Linked DNA regions of Homo sapiens: all the other regions are linked to region 3. The links are contacts of gene promoters, found by promoter capture Hi-C in human tissues and cell types (Jung and others, 2019). All regions are on one chromosome and are shown on one strand. Each heading gives the region's core, a stretch centred on a gene start or on the middle of the fragment in contact. The rest is flanking DNA. Distances are from core to core; before and after follow the strand shown. Region 1 overlaps EXT1 (exostosin glycosyltransferase 1). Region 2 overlaps EXT1 (exostosin glycosyltransferase 1). Region 3 holds the start of MED30 (mediator complex subunit 30). Region 4 overlaps EXT1 (exostosin glycosyltransferase 1).

Evidence for each region. Contacts are between HindIII fragments. The study calls those that stand out against the background at their distance.
Region 1: a fragment that was not itself captured here is called in contact with the fragment with the promoter of MED30 in region 3 in 1 of the 25 tissues and cell types used here (H1 embryonic stem cells).
Region 2: a fragment that was not itself captured here is called in contact with the fragment with the promoter of MED30 in region 3 in 1 of the 25 tissues and cell types used here (hippocampus).
Region 4: a fragment that was not itself captured here is called in contact with the fragment with the promoter of MED30 in region 3 in 1 of the 25 tissues and cell types used here (mesenchymal stem cells).

What each region holds. Positions count from the first base shown.
Region 1 is chr8:117,940,215-117,943,634 of GRCh38, forward strand. All of the region lies in intron 1 of EXT1 (exostosin glycosyltransferase 1), which reads right to left. Among named protein-coding and RNA genes, the nearest start is that of SNORD168, 21 kb to the left of the region's middle. The HindIII fragment of the contact is 8,665 bases long and covers 1-3,420 here.
Region 2 is chr8:117,895,464-117,898,695 of GRCh38, forward strand. The region is part of intron 1 of EXT1 (exostosin glycosyltransferase 1); the gene reads right to left. Among named protein-coding and RNA genes, the nearest start is that of SNORD168, 24 kb to the right of the region's middle. The HindIII fragment of the contact is 5,152 bases long and covers 1-3,232 here.
Region 3 is chr8:117,518,778-117,522,052 of GRCh38, forward strand. MED30 (mediator complex subunit 30) reads left to right here and starts at 1,936. Exons shown (of 4, transcript NM_080651.4): 1 at 1,936-2,276. The coding sequence starts at 2,100. LOC105375716 (a long non-coding RNA gene) reads right to left here and starts at 1,943. Exons shown (of 7, transcript XR_928569.3): 1 at 1,777-1,943; 2 at 262-400. The HindIII fragment of the contact is 5,716 bases long and covers 1-3,275 here.
Region 4 is chr8:117,968,536-117,971,748 of GRCh38, forward strand. All of the region lies in intron 1 of EXT1 (exostosin glycosyltransferase 1), which reads right to left. Among named protein-coding and RNA genes, the nearest start is that of SNORD168, 49 kb to the left of the region's middle. RefSeq lists a silencer at 1,450-1,509. The HindIII fragment of the contact is 6,182 bases long and covers 1-3,213 here.

The DNA of each region.
Region 1 (3,420 bases), core at 81-2,580, 420 kb after region 3:
GATGACAGCAGGCTACCTGCCCAGGCTGACTAGTGAGATGACATAGGCCGACTGGTGAGATGATGTAGACTGACATCCAGGGGAGCAGGTGGAAGAAAATGCTGGCACAGGGAACCTGTGGTATAATCTCAATGGCTATGGAATCCTGGGGTGGAAAGAGTGGCAAGCTGAGCTAGCATTCCTGGAAGAGCCCCCCGTATCTGGAAGGCTTGAAGAAACATTCCCACAGGGCTAAAAGCACTAGGCATCAAGGAAGGATGTTACAGCTCATTTCAATTCAAACGACCTTTACTAAATAGCTACACAGGGACAGCCCTGGGGTCTGGGGAGTAGCTATTTAAAGGTGAATTAAAACACGCTGCACCCTCAAGAAACTCATTAGTCTAGCAGGAAGCCAGACATTAAGCCAATCCACAGTGATACAAGGTGATCTTGATAAGGCCTAGAATGAGGCATAAGAAGACTCGGGAGATGGTAACATCATTAGTTCAGAATGAGAATTTCTGGTCTGGGAAAAACTTTACAAAATTGAAATCTGTCTGGGTCTTGAAGGATCAGTAGGAGTTTGACCTGTGGGTACAATGGAAGCTGCTGGCATCCTGCGTGTATTCCTTTTATTGGTCAGTGCAGTCACCCCTAGGCTGCTGGGATCTTGCAGGGGAAATGCCTGGGTAATTACCTACCCCCACCCAAAGGCAGCCTACAGCCAGTTAGTTACTGACTGATATGGGGGTCTCCATGGGGCCATACATGCCATTCATGCTACAGATTCCCCAGGGGTTAAGGCGGAGGTTGGACTTCAACTAGACCCACATCCTTCCCCAGCTTCCTGCCCTGCCCCATCCTGCTTCTCACATTCCTTTACTGGCTTCTACAAAGAAATAATTCTCTCAATAAGTCACTTGCATGAGAAACCCCGTCTCGGGACTCCTCTAGGGAACCCTACCTAAGTCAGAGGCAAGTGGGGGAGCAGCAACCAAAGTAGGGAGATTGTCATGTGCAGGCAATCCAGGCATGAATATCTGATGAATGCCGGCAGCTCTACCACGTATCATGGTAAGATGTTCAGATCTTTATTATGCAGGAAATACACAGCCACTGGACAGTTAGAGGAAGATAAGAAAATCAGAGTTCCTAAGCTGCAAAATTTTAAAGCAGGGACTTTGCTACTATAACATATGGAGGGGGGAATAGGCTAGGCCCATAGTTCAGAAAGCTGGTGGTCTGTGCAGCCTCCAGTAAGGCTGGATCTAGGGTAGTGAGAGTGGAACCTGGAAAAAGGGTAAATTCAACAGAGGCAGAAAAAGCAACACACTTTGCAAAGTAGTCAGGAAGGCAAACCCAGGCATTCGCCACACACAGCGCAGAAAGGGTTGATGGTGAGTGATCATTTTTTCAGCCCAAACCACATCCAGCCTTCTTAAGAGACCTGGCACAGAAGAGCTCTGTTCATATACATGGCACACCCTCATGTTAAATCTTTGGTTATTCCAGAATGGATCCTTCTAAAAGTTTCAAACACAAAACTCACTGTCACTTTTCTTCAAGTGACCACTCATTTTATAATGAAAACATGAGGTAGAAATCACAACTTCAAGCCTCCTGCCATCCAGTTTAAGACCTACAGGCAAAACGTACAAATGGCTGGGCAGCCTCACCCCTCTTGCTGTGTCACTCCACACTGTGAATGCCATGACTGTCACTGCCTGTGCTAATGCTACAATCCTAGTTCTACAAGTGGAATGCACAGTATCATCCTATTTTCAGATGGGACAACTGAGGATCAAAGTAAGTTGTTCAAGGAGTTATAGGTCTAATGGGCCCCAACACTGATGACCTTCCCATCACCTGCTGCTACCGTCTTAGCCTCAGTAATGTCCAACCTCATTAATTTTAACATGGAGGACCCATCCATATATTAAAATCCAATTCTTCTACTCTTTAAACTCAGCTCAAGCTTCATTCCTTCTATTAAGTCTGTAACCCAAATGAATCAGACCTTTTGCTGCATCCTCATTGTACCTGTGTGCACAGACCACAACTGCACCACCTATATACTACATACTTGAGGCATACATTTATCATCACTCCTCTGGGTTTCTTCCTTATGAGACTGTAATAATGTAGGGGAAAGGCAGACCTGGCCCCTGTCTTTATACCCCCAGAACCTAGCACAGAGGCTGGTAGGAGTAAATGATAAGAAAATTATACTCAAGGACGGGTGCGGTGGCTCATGCCTATAAACCTAGGACTTTGGGAGGCCGAGGTGGGCAGATCACCTGAGGTCGGGAGTTCCAGACCAGACTGACCAACATGGAGAAAGCCCATCTCTACTAAAAATACAAAATTAGCCAGGCATGGTGGTGCACGCCTGTAATCCCAGCTACTCGGGAGGCTGAGGCAGGAGAATCGCTTGAACCTGGGAGGTGGAGGTTGCGGTGAGCTGAGATCATGCCATTGCACTCCAGTCTGAGCAACAAGAGCGAAATTCGGTCTCCAAAAAACGAAAGAAAAAGAAAAAGAAGATTATACTCAAATATCCAACAAGTTCTGTTGAATGTTTTTTTAAACATTCATATGTAATGAAAATTACACTTGATATATACTAACGCTATGATCCTAATTCTACAAGTTGAATAAATTGGATGGCCCAGGGTCTACTCCCAGCCCTGACACGTAGCAGTCAAAGTGATCCTGGGGAAATACAGAGCTTCTTGGACCCATAGATTATTGGCACATGAAGCCATTGGGCTAGAAACTCTCAAACGTCTTTTTGAATACAAAGAATCTTGTTGCTACTCACATTTATAATAAAGCAAAATAGTCCATATCCAATTTTCCAGTAGCTCTTTGAAATGGATGTTTGTGAAAACATTCATGTAGAAGCCCTAAGAAGTTTAGCCAGAAAACCTAACTACTTTCTTCTTTAAAGAGTATTTGCTAAGGAAGCATTTATTTAGGCAATTTTAAAAAATGGTTTTAAGTCTTTAATGTAAACATTGCCTGATAATGGCAAGAGTAGGGGTAAACAGACACTACTACAAACTGCTAGTAAGAAAATAAATTGGGAGGTCTTTTGTGGAAGGCAATTTGACAATTTATCCTATGGAAATACCTGAGGAGGCTTGTAAAGAAATGCTATGATTATAATAGTCACAGCACCGATTGTAACAATGCATATTGCAACCAAATGACATACAATTATTTGATAAATTATAGTATATTTATGCAAAGGAATACTATATAGTCACATACAAAAAAAATGTGTTTATACAAGTATATTCAGTAGAATGGAAACTGCCTAGAGTAGACTGCTGGGTGAAAGAAGCACTTTAGGAGGCAGTGATGATATTCCTGCAAAAGAAAGTACATGTGAGTGTTTGCACGTACATGCCTGTGGTGTACATATCAGCATATGAG
Region 2 (3,232 bases), core at 94-2,593, 380 kb after region 3:
TCCACTCACAGCCAGAACCCTAAGTAGTTTCAAGCACTCAAAAATCAAACAGAAAACAACTTCACGCAAGACTGAAGGGAAGTCATTAAGACCCATCCAGGTCTGAGTGTTATACGAAAATGTTACTGTCGTTAATTACCTTCCAATAATAATGCCAATTACAGAAAATAATGAGAATGTTTACCCACCAAACTAATAGGGACTGGCATTTCAAAGTCTACCAGAATAACCTAGGCAACAAGAAATGTTCTGATTCTCCCATGTCTGGATGTTTTTGCTTTTTCTTCCTTTCCTGCTGACCCACTTCAAAGGTTTCATGCTGGAAACACTAATCATGTCCTCCTTTGCTGGAGTAAGTTACCCTCCTTTTTGCTCCCTGCCTAGTGCCTCCGTTCGCATCCAAAGTAACGCTCATTACCTGCAAACTCAAACTTCCAGCAGCCCACATGCAGATCCCAGCACACAGATATATCATTCCACATTGGCCTACCTGATTTACAGATCACATGGGTTTCTGAAATACAGATAAACGGGCACTTGGGGAAAGCAGTAATGTTGTAAAACGTAGAGAAGGTCATGCATGTATATTTTACCTGGAACCTCACAAGAATTGATAACATTTGTGGGATTTCATTTCTACCTACACAGAAAACACATATTCTAAGGGTTTAAACTTGAAAACTCACATTCAGGCACACATGCTTATGCCTGTCTATGGATGTGTGTGCATGTGTGCACATGCATGCACAAATCAAGAAGAGTTTCTATTTAAAGACAACTTGCACCAAAAAAATCCAGATTACTTTACAATGCAAATCATCATCTTTTGTATTTTATTACGAGCTTCCTTTAGTATATTAATTTCTAAGCATCTTTAACACAAATCATCATATACATACAACTCTCTCTTTCAGATTCAGAGAAGGAGTTAAAAATCAGCCAAAAAAGAAAGCAAAAAACAATGAAGATAAGGGAGGAGGGAGTGTATATGGAGCAAAAGGAGGAAGCCAGCTGGTTAGCTGGCCTTTTAAAAGGTATCAGGGAATTAGGCCCAAGGCCATTAATCCTACAGTTTTCACTCCTCTGCCAACTCTCACGGCTTACATTACCGAGCCATCATCCAGATTAAAAATGGGTTTCCATAAGGGTTTCTGCTTCCCCAGGAACCCTCCTCTCTACCCTCCCCACCTGCTGCCCCTTCACACAGCAGCAAAGTGAAATCCAAAAGAAAAATATTAAAATCAAACAAGGCTTTAGGGATTTGGGGAGGTGGATGGAGAACAGGTTCTTATCTAGGCTTTAGCACAATATTCCTTCTTCAAAGTCTTCTTAATTACATTGAGAGAAAGAACAAGCGACAAACAGAAGAGCTGCCTTCTAAATTCAGTGCCCCTCAATGAAGGGTTCAGGTTCACAGGTTCTAGCCCTAAGGGAGAATGATGATCTGTGCTCAGCTTCTTGCCACCCAGGGTCCCAGCCCCCCAGCCTCTGCCTCCATGTTTCCCTTCACCCCCACTTGCTCAGCTTCCTCCCTGCTCTAAGAAGTGCCCCTACTTGACAGCTATTCTGTCCATGGAATTTCCCTGCTGGGCACCTACATTTTATTTTTCAAGTGGAAAGAATGCAAGGTTAAGGACTGTGTTTCTAAGATCCCAAAGCTGCAGCCAGTTAAGAACTGAATAATTCAACCAGAACTAGTTGTTCTGTCCATACTAGCTGCATGTGGCTTTATCCCCTGTAACCTAGAGCTTGTAGAAATGAGAAAATTAAACCATATCCAGCAGGGCACAGAGCGTGCACATTGTCCTTCCGAGTAGATTCAAAAGGAGCTGGTAGTCATGCATCAGATGGTGTGGCAGTCTTACTGTTAAGGGACAAGCTAAGGGCTGACTGCTCTCCCCCACGAGTGGAAGTGCCAAAGTGGGTTTATCTTTACTGCAGGTCTCCTGTGTGCTGGAATCTGTGCTAGGCACTGTTCCTGCTTTATTTCAATGAACACTTGTAGCAATCTGAAAGGTCATATTGGCTAAGGACTTGAGCTCTGGATCTAAAGCAGGCCTTGTTTTCAATCTCAGATTCAGCACTTTCCAAGAGTGTCTTTGTAGCCCATTGCCGGGCTTCTTTTCTCTTTTTTTTTTTTTTTTTTTTTGAGACAGAGTCTCGCTCTGTCGACCAGGCTGGAGTCCAACGGCCCGATCTCGGTTCACTTCAACCTCTGCCTCCTGGGTTCAAGCAATTCTCCCGCCTCAGCCTTCCGAGTAGCTGGGATTACAGGCGCGTACAACCACGCCCAGCTAATTTTTGTATTTTTAGTAGAGATGAGGTTTCGAGGTTTCACCATGTTGCCCAGGCTGGTTTTGAACTCCTGGGCTCAAGCGATCTGCCCTCCTCAGCCTCCCAAAACGGTCGGATTATAGGCGTGAACCACCGCACCCAGCCGCCTGGAATTTTTAAGCCTCAAGTTTGTTCCACTTTGAATGCAAGAAGCCACCTCATAGGTAAGAATATTATTGAACATAAGGCATGGCACAAAATACTTTCTAAGTGATTATTGTCCTTGTTATACCCACTTTATAGATAAAAGATAAAGTCATTTGTCCAGAAGGCAAAGCCAGGAGTGGCTACTTAATTTTTCTTGACCCCAAAGTGTATACTCTTTCCATAACTTCCTGTTGTCTCCCATGGACCCACCTCAAAATCAGAGGTGTCACAGTGGTGGTTTAACAACCAAAGTTTCAAATTAGCCATATACATTCTGGGGGCTTCCAAGATCCCATACTGGGGTCTCCACCCTTATTTCCTTGCTCTCAGAAGTAATGTGTGATGAACCTGTTCTTTGGAGGAAGTACCTTCCTGTGGGCTGGCTGGCACACTGTCCCAGGCAAGGCCAGCCTGGGGATGTTCTAGATGTTCACTCTTTTTTCTAGTTTCAATCCTGCAAACTCAGTGGACAGAAGGAGCTAGGGACTTGAAAGCATGAAAGCATTGGATTAGAAAGAAAACTACAAATGCAGTCTGTGTAACAGAATCATGGTATTTTCATATTGAGAAGGCTCTTTTTGATTCAGCCATTGTTTAGTTAGACCTGTACAAGTTGAATTCGAACTTATTTTCCCACTGTTACTTTTCTAGGTTTGGTAAAATGTGTGAATGGCTGTGGATCCCATGAAGGTTTTTAAGTTAGAGCACAAAACGTCCTAAAAAGCACGTGACTGGCCTTGCCAGGCAGAGC
Region 3 (3,275 bases), core at 686-3,185:
TTTCACATGAAAGCAGAAATACGTGCCATCCTTAATTCTTTCCTCTCCTTAATGTTCCTGATCCAGTTACTATCAAGTTCTCTAGATTCTACTTACTAAATATTTATTCAAAGTTACCCTCTGTCTCCTTTCTCTGCACAGGTCATGATCATCATCATCATTCCCCTTTGGGAGAGAAGACAATAGAAACCCACCATCTGTTCCCCATTTAGCAACCAGAATAAGTGTTCTAAAATGAATATTTCAAATTATTCCTCTCACCTTGAAACTCTTCAATGGCTTGCTATTTCACTCCATAAATTCTCAACTGCTTGACATGGGTTAGAAGATCCTCCAGGGTTGCCTCTGTCTTCAGCCTTATTTCCTAACACTCGTCCTCACACTGAACTTCTTCCAGATCCTAGAAAGCATTAGGAGGCCTCTTCACTTCAGGTGTTGGCACTGGCCTTCCTCGTCCTCATAGAAAAGACTCTATCATTCGTTACTCCCTTCCCTATCCACCTTCAGGTTCCACACTGCTCCCTTCAGGTCGTTCTCAATCTCCTAAATTGTTAGCACCCTGATATCAGGAACTTTTGCTTCAAGACGCTCATCACAATAGTGTTCTGTTTGTCCCCATGACAAACATGCTGCAGGGCTTTTGCCTGGTTTGTTCAGTACGCTATCTTCACTCCTAGCACCCAGCACATAATAGGTGCTCAGCCAATATTTGTCGAATGGTAATTACCGAAGACCTGCGAATTACTATGTTTAAAATCTCTACCAGGGTTCCTATGACATATTTAGTAACTATTTCCTGGAAAGTCCGTACAATGGAGCATTCAGATACTTCTAAAAAATGCAATGTTTGTGCCTATCACTAATTTTACATTCTTCACTTTTCCCCACTTTGGAGATGAACAGTAAGTGAGAGACATTGTGAGAGACATTTTAATTTCTCTTGCATTTATCATGTCACTCAACAATCATTCAATAAGTATTTATTGATACTTGTGCCAATCACTAGGTGTTGAGAATAAGTGAATAAAATAGTCTGTTTTCATGGAGTTGGCAGTGTGTGTAGATAGGGTGAGATAAAGTCTGAAAGTAAACAAACTGAAAGCTATATAAAATATCAGACAGTAGGCCGGGCGCGGTGGCTTATGCCTGTAATCCCAGCACTTTGGGAGGCCGAGGCGGGCGGATCACGAGGTCAGGAGATCGAGACCATCCCGGCTAACACGGTGAAACCCCGTCTCTACTAAAAATACAAAAAATTTGTCGGGCGTGGTGGCGGGCGCCTGTAGTCCCAGCTACTCGGGAGGCCGAGGCTGGAGAATGGTGTGAACCCGGGAGGCGGAGCTTGCAGTGAGCCGAGGTCGCGCCACTGCACTCCAGCCTGGGTGACAGAGCGAGACTCCATCTCAAAAAGAAAAAGAAAAAAAAATCAGACACTAATAAGAGCCAGAGTCAGAAAGAAGTGTGTGTGTTGATCATTTTTTTTGCTTACAGATACTGGGAAAACTCAAAGAATAAAACATCTGAGCAGGGACCAAGAGCAATCGGGGAGTCCGTATCATGTCACAGAGAAGCGTACAAGCTTAGGAATCTTGTTTTCTGAATTCGAATCGCAGGTTGCCAGTTACACCTGTATGCGACTCAACAAGTACTTTAACCTGTCTCTTAGCTGTTATACTACAAACCTCAGGCTTGTTAAGAGAAAATGCTCCGCAAGGAACTAAACACAGAAGGTTCTAACGCTGAGCCAAGACTGGGAAACGAACTCTGGGAACTCACCCCAGGCTCCCCAAGAACATCGCCCCTCTGGCTGGAGCGCAATTGGTGATTGGCTACTTAACCCGTCCGTCCTTTCCCGCCCAGGGGTCCAATCCAATCCAGCCCGGCTCCGCTCGGAGACAGTTCGCCGAGTGGGCGGTGTCTATGACGTTTTCTGACGTGTTACGTCACAGTGGGCGGAAGTCGCGGCCGCTGTTTTGAAATCGGGCCGCGGGGGGTCTCTCAAGCTGGTTCCAACGCTGAGGCCCCACAGCCTCCCAATTCCGGGCAGACCCCTGACACCTGCTGTCTGGCCCCTTCCGGCCTGAAGCTGCAGCCGCGCCATGTCCACCCCTCCGTTGGCCGCGTCGGGGATGGCGCCCGGGCCCTTCGCCGGGCCCCAGGCTCAGCAGGCCGCCCGGGAAGTCAACACGGCGTCGCTGTGCCGCATCGGGCAGGAGACAGTGCAGGACATCGTGTACCGCACCATGGAGATCTTCCAGCTCCTGAGGAACATGCAGGTAGGAAGGCGGGCGCGCGAGGCCAGGGGGATGCAGCTGGGAGGGAAAGGGCCTCTGGTTTCCTCTTTACGTGGGGCCCGTGGATGTCATCGGGGCTGCCCTGGGCAAACCTTAGGTGTAGGGTCTCCCCCATTCACACTCAAGAGTGTCCCCAAAAGTCGGATTTGTAGAGGTGATGTTTTCCAGACCAGATTTCTGCAGAATTGAAGCCAATTTTTTTTAGATTCAATCGAGCTCTTTAGTTACTCTGTAAACTCTTGCACCTTTCAAGGCAGAGATGGGTCGCACTCCACTTCCCTCTTTAGGTTGCTTTAAATGTTTTTTCCAGCATTTCTTCTGGGGAGGTCCAAGGAGTTGAAGAATTTACATTTTTTTTAAAAAAACAGTCCTCCTTTTTTTGGCATAGTTAATATACAGTAAACTACACTCACCTAAAGTTTTGATATATATGTGTACTGTAGTCTGTATACTTGTGAAATTATCACCACAATCAAAATAGTGTACACATCATCCCAGAAAGTTTCTTCATACCCCTCTGACATCTTTGCTTCCCACCTTCCATCGCTAAGCAACCATTGATCTGCGTTCTGTAATCATAAATTAATTTGCATTTGCTAGGGTTTTATATAAACGGAGTCTACAGTATGTGGGCTTTTTTTTTTGTCTGAGATCCTTCACTAAGAATGCATCAATAATTTCCTTTTTATTGCTGAGTAATGTTCCATTGTATCCATGTATCACCATTTGCCTACCTTTTCTTCTGTTGATGGACATTTGGGTTGTTTCCACTTTTTGGCTGTTGTAAATAATGCTGCTATGAACTTTTGCTGACAAATTTTTGTGTGAACGTATGTGTCATTTCTCTTGGACAGATTCAGGAGTGGAATTGCTGGATCATGCAGTACATGTCTGTTTAATACTTTAAGAAACTTTTCCAAAGTGGCCTGAGCCATTTTACGTCCCGATTATTGCTAGTGGGAATGTAAACATTGCTGTTTG
Region 4 (3,213 bases), core at 282-2,781, 450 kb after region 3:
TATTTATTTATTTATTTATTTTTTTTTTTTTTTTTTTTTTTTTTTTTTTTTTGAGACGGAGTCTCACTCTGTCACCCAGGCTGGAGTGCAGTGGCTTGATCTCGGCTCACTGCAAGCTCCACCTCCCGGGTTCACGCCATTCTCCTGCCTCAGCCTCCCGAGTAGCTGGGACTATAGGCGCCCACCACGACGCCCGGCTAATTTTTTGTATTTTTAGTAGAGACGGGGTTTCACCAGGTTAGCCAGGATGGTCTCGATCTCCTGACCTTGTGATCCGCCCGCCTCGGCCTCCCAAAGTGCTGGGATTACAGGCGTGAGCCACTGTGCCCAGCCAATTCTGCCTTATTTAAAGCAGTAAATATTTGACTGTAAACTACCTATTGTATACAGCTCTGTCTCTTCCTGATGTCCAAACTGTTTATTAAGCAAAAATAAGTTCTATACCATGGTGGTATATAAAAGAAGGAAAATGCGAAAAGCAGACCCAGTCCAGAGGAGTTACCATCTTTATTGGGAAGATAAGACTTTTACGAATGAAATAATTAGGGAAAAAAACAAAGCGGCCACATTTATTACCAAAAGCCTCGGGGCAGGGTCCAAATCTTTTATGAGAAGCCCCATTATTTGGAATCCAAACTAAGTAAAAATGTGAACAACTGAGATTTGGTCCCTTCCTTGTCATCCCTGTACTGCCACCCAAGAAGATCCTTTTATACTATTTTAAGAGAAATTGAAAATAATAAACAAGTAGATTGTCCTCAGGAATTTAATATTTCTTAACGGAATTGAACAGAGTTTTCCAGGGCAATCTCTTCCACCATTCGTTTCCATAGTATTGTATAGCAAATGGTTGTTTAGCCCAACAAACTAAAAATGTCAACCACAGCCTTGAGACCCTCTAAATTCTATAAAGTGAAACGTCTCACTTTGAAATATGCACATTGATCCCAGAGACGCAAATTCTCTCACTTTTAAGGCTATTGTGAAACTAACTCCAGCTTCATCTTTATGGAGCTGTTTCAATGTATAATTTAAGAAATCACTTCCAAATACTGAAAAATCCGTGAAAATCCTGCATAAATTATGCATGTTTGCGAGTCCCCTCCCTCATGTTGTGACAGATCTGAGCTATGTGGTGGTGGCAGTGGTGTGTGTGTGTGCGCGCGCACGCGTGTATGTGCATGCACATGCACACATGGTGTGGTTGAGATGGAAACCTTTCTCGCAAGCTTATTGAATATTTCCACCTCCTACAGAGCACTCTGAAGAAATGCACTTTTTCAACATTCAGATGAATGTGAATCAGAACGGCAGTTCTCCCAGGACTCATCTTTTATATTGAACGTAGGGTCACTGACAGGATTGAAATGGATCCAAGTTACCTTGATTAGCTGATTTTTAAAAGATTAGAAGCAGCCAGCTATGGACCGGAGGAAGGAGAACTGATTCTAGTGTCTGCTCTACCACAAAAAAGCCATGAGAATTTTAACATGTTACTTCAACCCTCTAAACCACAGTTTCCTTTTGTGTAAAATGAGGGATAAACCAGATAGTCTTTAGGTGGAATTCATGAACTGCCAGCCTGCAGACGTATTTGTTTAGCTAAGCTTAACCCCAAGATCTTTTTTATACTGGAGCACTATAAAGAGGTTTTATGGCATGACTCTCAAATTTTAGTGCATGACAGACTCTCCCAGAGAACCTACACCTGGGCTGTACCCCCAGAACTTCTGACCTAATTGGTTTGAGGCAGGGCTCAGGAATCTACATTTTTTTTTTTTTTTTTGACACGGAGTCTCACTCTGTCACACAGGCTGGAGTGCAGTGGCGTGATCTCAGCTCACTGCAACTCCGCCTCCCAGGTTTAAGTGATTCTCCTGCCTCAGCCTCTTGATTAGTTGGGATTACAGGTGTGTACCACCATGCCTGGCTAATTTTTTTTGGTATTTTTAGTAGAGATGGGGTTTCATCATATTGGTCAGGCTGGTCTCAAACTCCTGACCTTGTGATCTGCCTGCCTCAGCCTCCCAAAATGCTGGGATTACAGGCGTGAGCCACCATGCCCGGCCAGGAATCTGAATTTTCAACAGGGGCTTTCAAGGGATTCCAAGGTACTTGGTCCATGGACCACACTTTGAGCATAGTGGGTTAGTTGAAATTCTTGGTGATCTAAGTGCTCACATCACAACTTAGCAGTTACAAACTTCATTGAGTGGAATCCAAAATCTGACTTAAATGAACCGGAATCACACACTAGAGGAGAGCACATGTGCTGGATGTATCCATGGAGTGCAGCAGTTCTAATGCTGCCACTTTCTGCCACTCACAAGCGGTGAATCCTGGGTAATCCGTTTTTCCATCTGGAAAAATAAGGGCAGCAGGATCATCTCACAGGATTCTCAAGAGGATGAGAAATCTCAGGGGGGTTACCTAGCATGATTCTTGGCACAGAGAAGATCCTCATGCCCTGTTATGTCTTCTCCTGGCCCCATTCCCTTCAGGGGCACTGCACTGCATGGAGCTGGCCTGCCCAAGAAGCACGAGGACACCAGGTGTGCACATAGCTTGCCTCTCGTGACCTCACCTGTGCAGGCTTGCCCTCAGCTTCCCGAAAGAGCAAAATGATCTTAATTTGTCCTGTTTGGGGAGGGAGTGGACTGCAACCACCTGCACTCATTTCAAAACAGACCACTCACTGTAGAAACTGAAAAGAAAACACATTTATTACTCCTCTCCCACAATACTACTTCACCTCCCCTGCCCTCAAAGCCTTAGTAAGTGGGCAAATTCCTAAAGTGGAAATTATATGATAAACTTTGGCCAAGCCATAAAACACAGCCGGGACTAAGGTCACAAAACAGTTACTGATGTATGTTCCCTGATCAAAGCCACTCCATGACACTCACTTTTAGGAGTCAAGGGGACTACAGAAACTTACAGGAAGAAAAAAAAGCAACTTTGAAGATAAATTAGAGAAGCAGTCTACTCATGGTCAAAAGACATTACTCTTTGAGCTTTATATATTAATGAAGATTAAATTCGAAGTTTATAAGCTCTTTGTGATTATTAATAATTCAATTACAAGGAGGTACAGAAGCCATTCAAATTAATATTGGCGATGAAGGGCTAAAGAATGCTCAGCACCCCTGCTCTCCACCAAAAAACCCACTCCATGAATTAATTGTGGTCACGTAAATTATAGATGCTTAATCA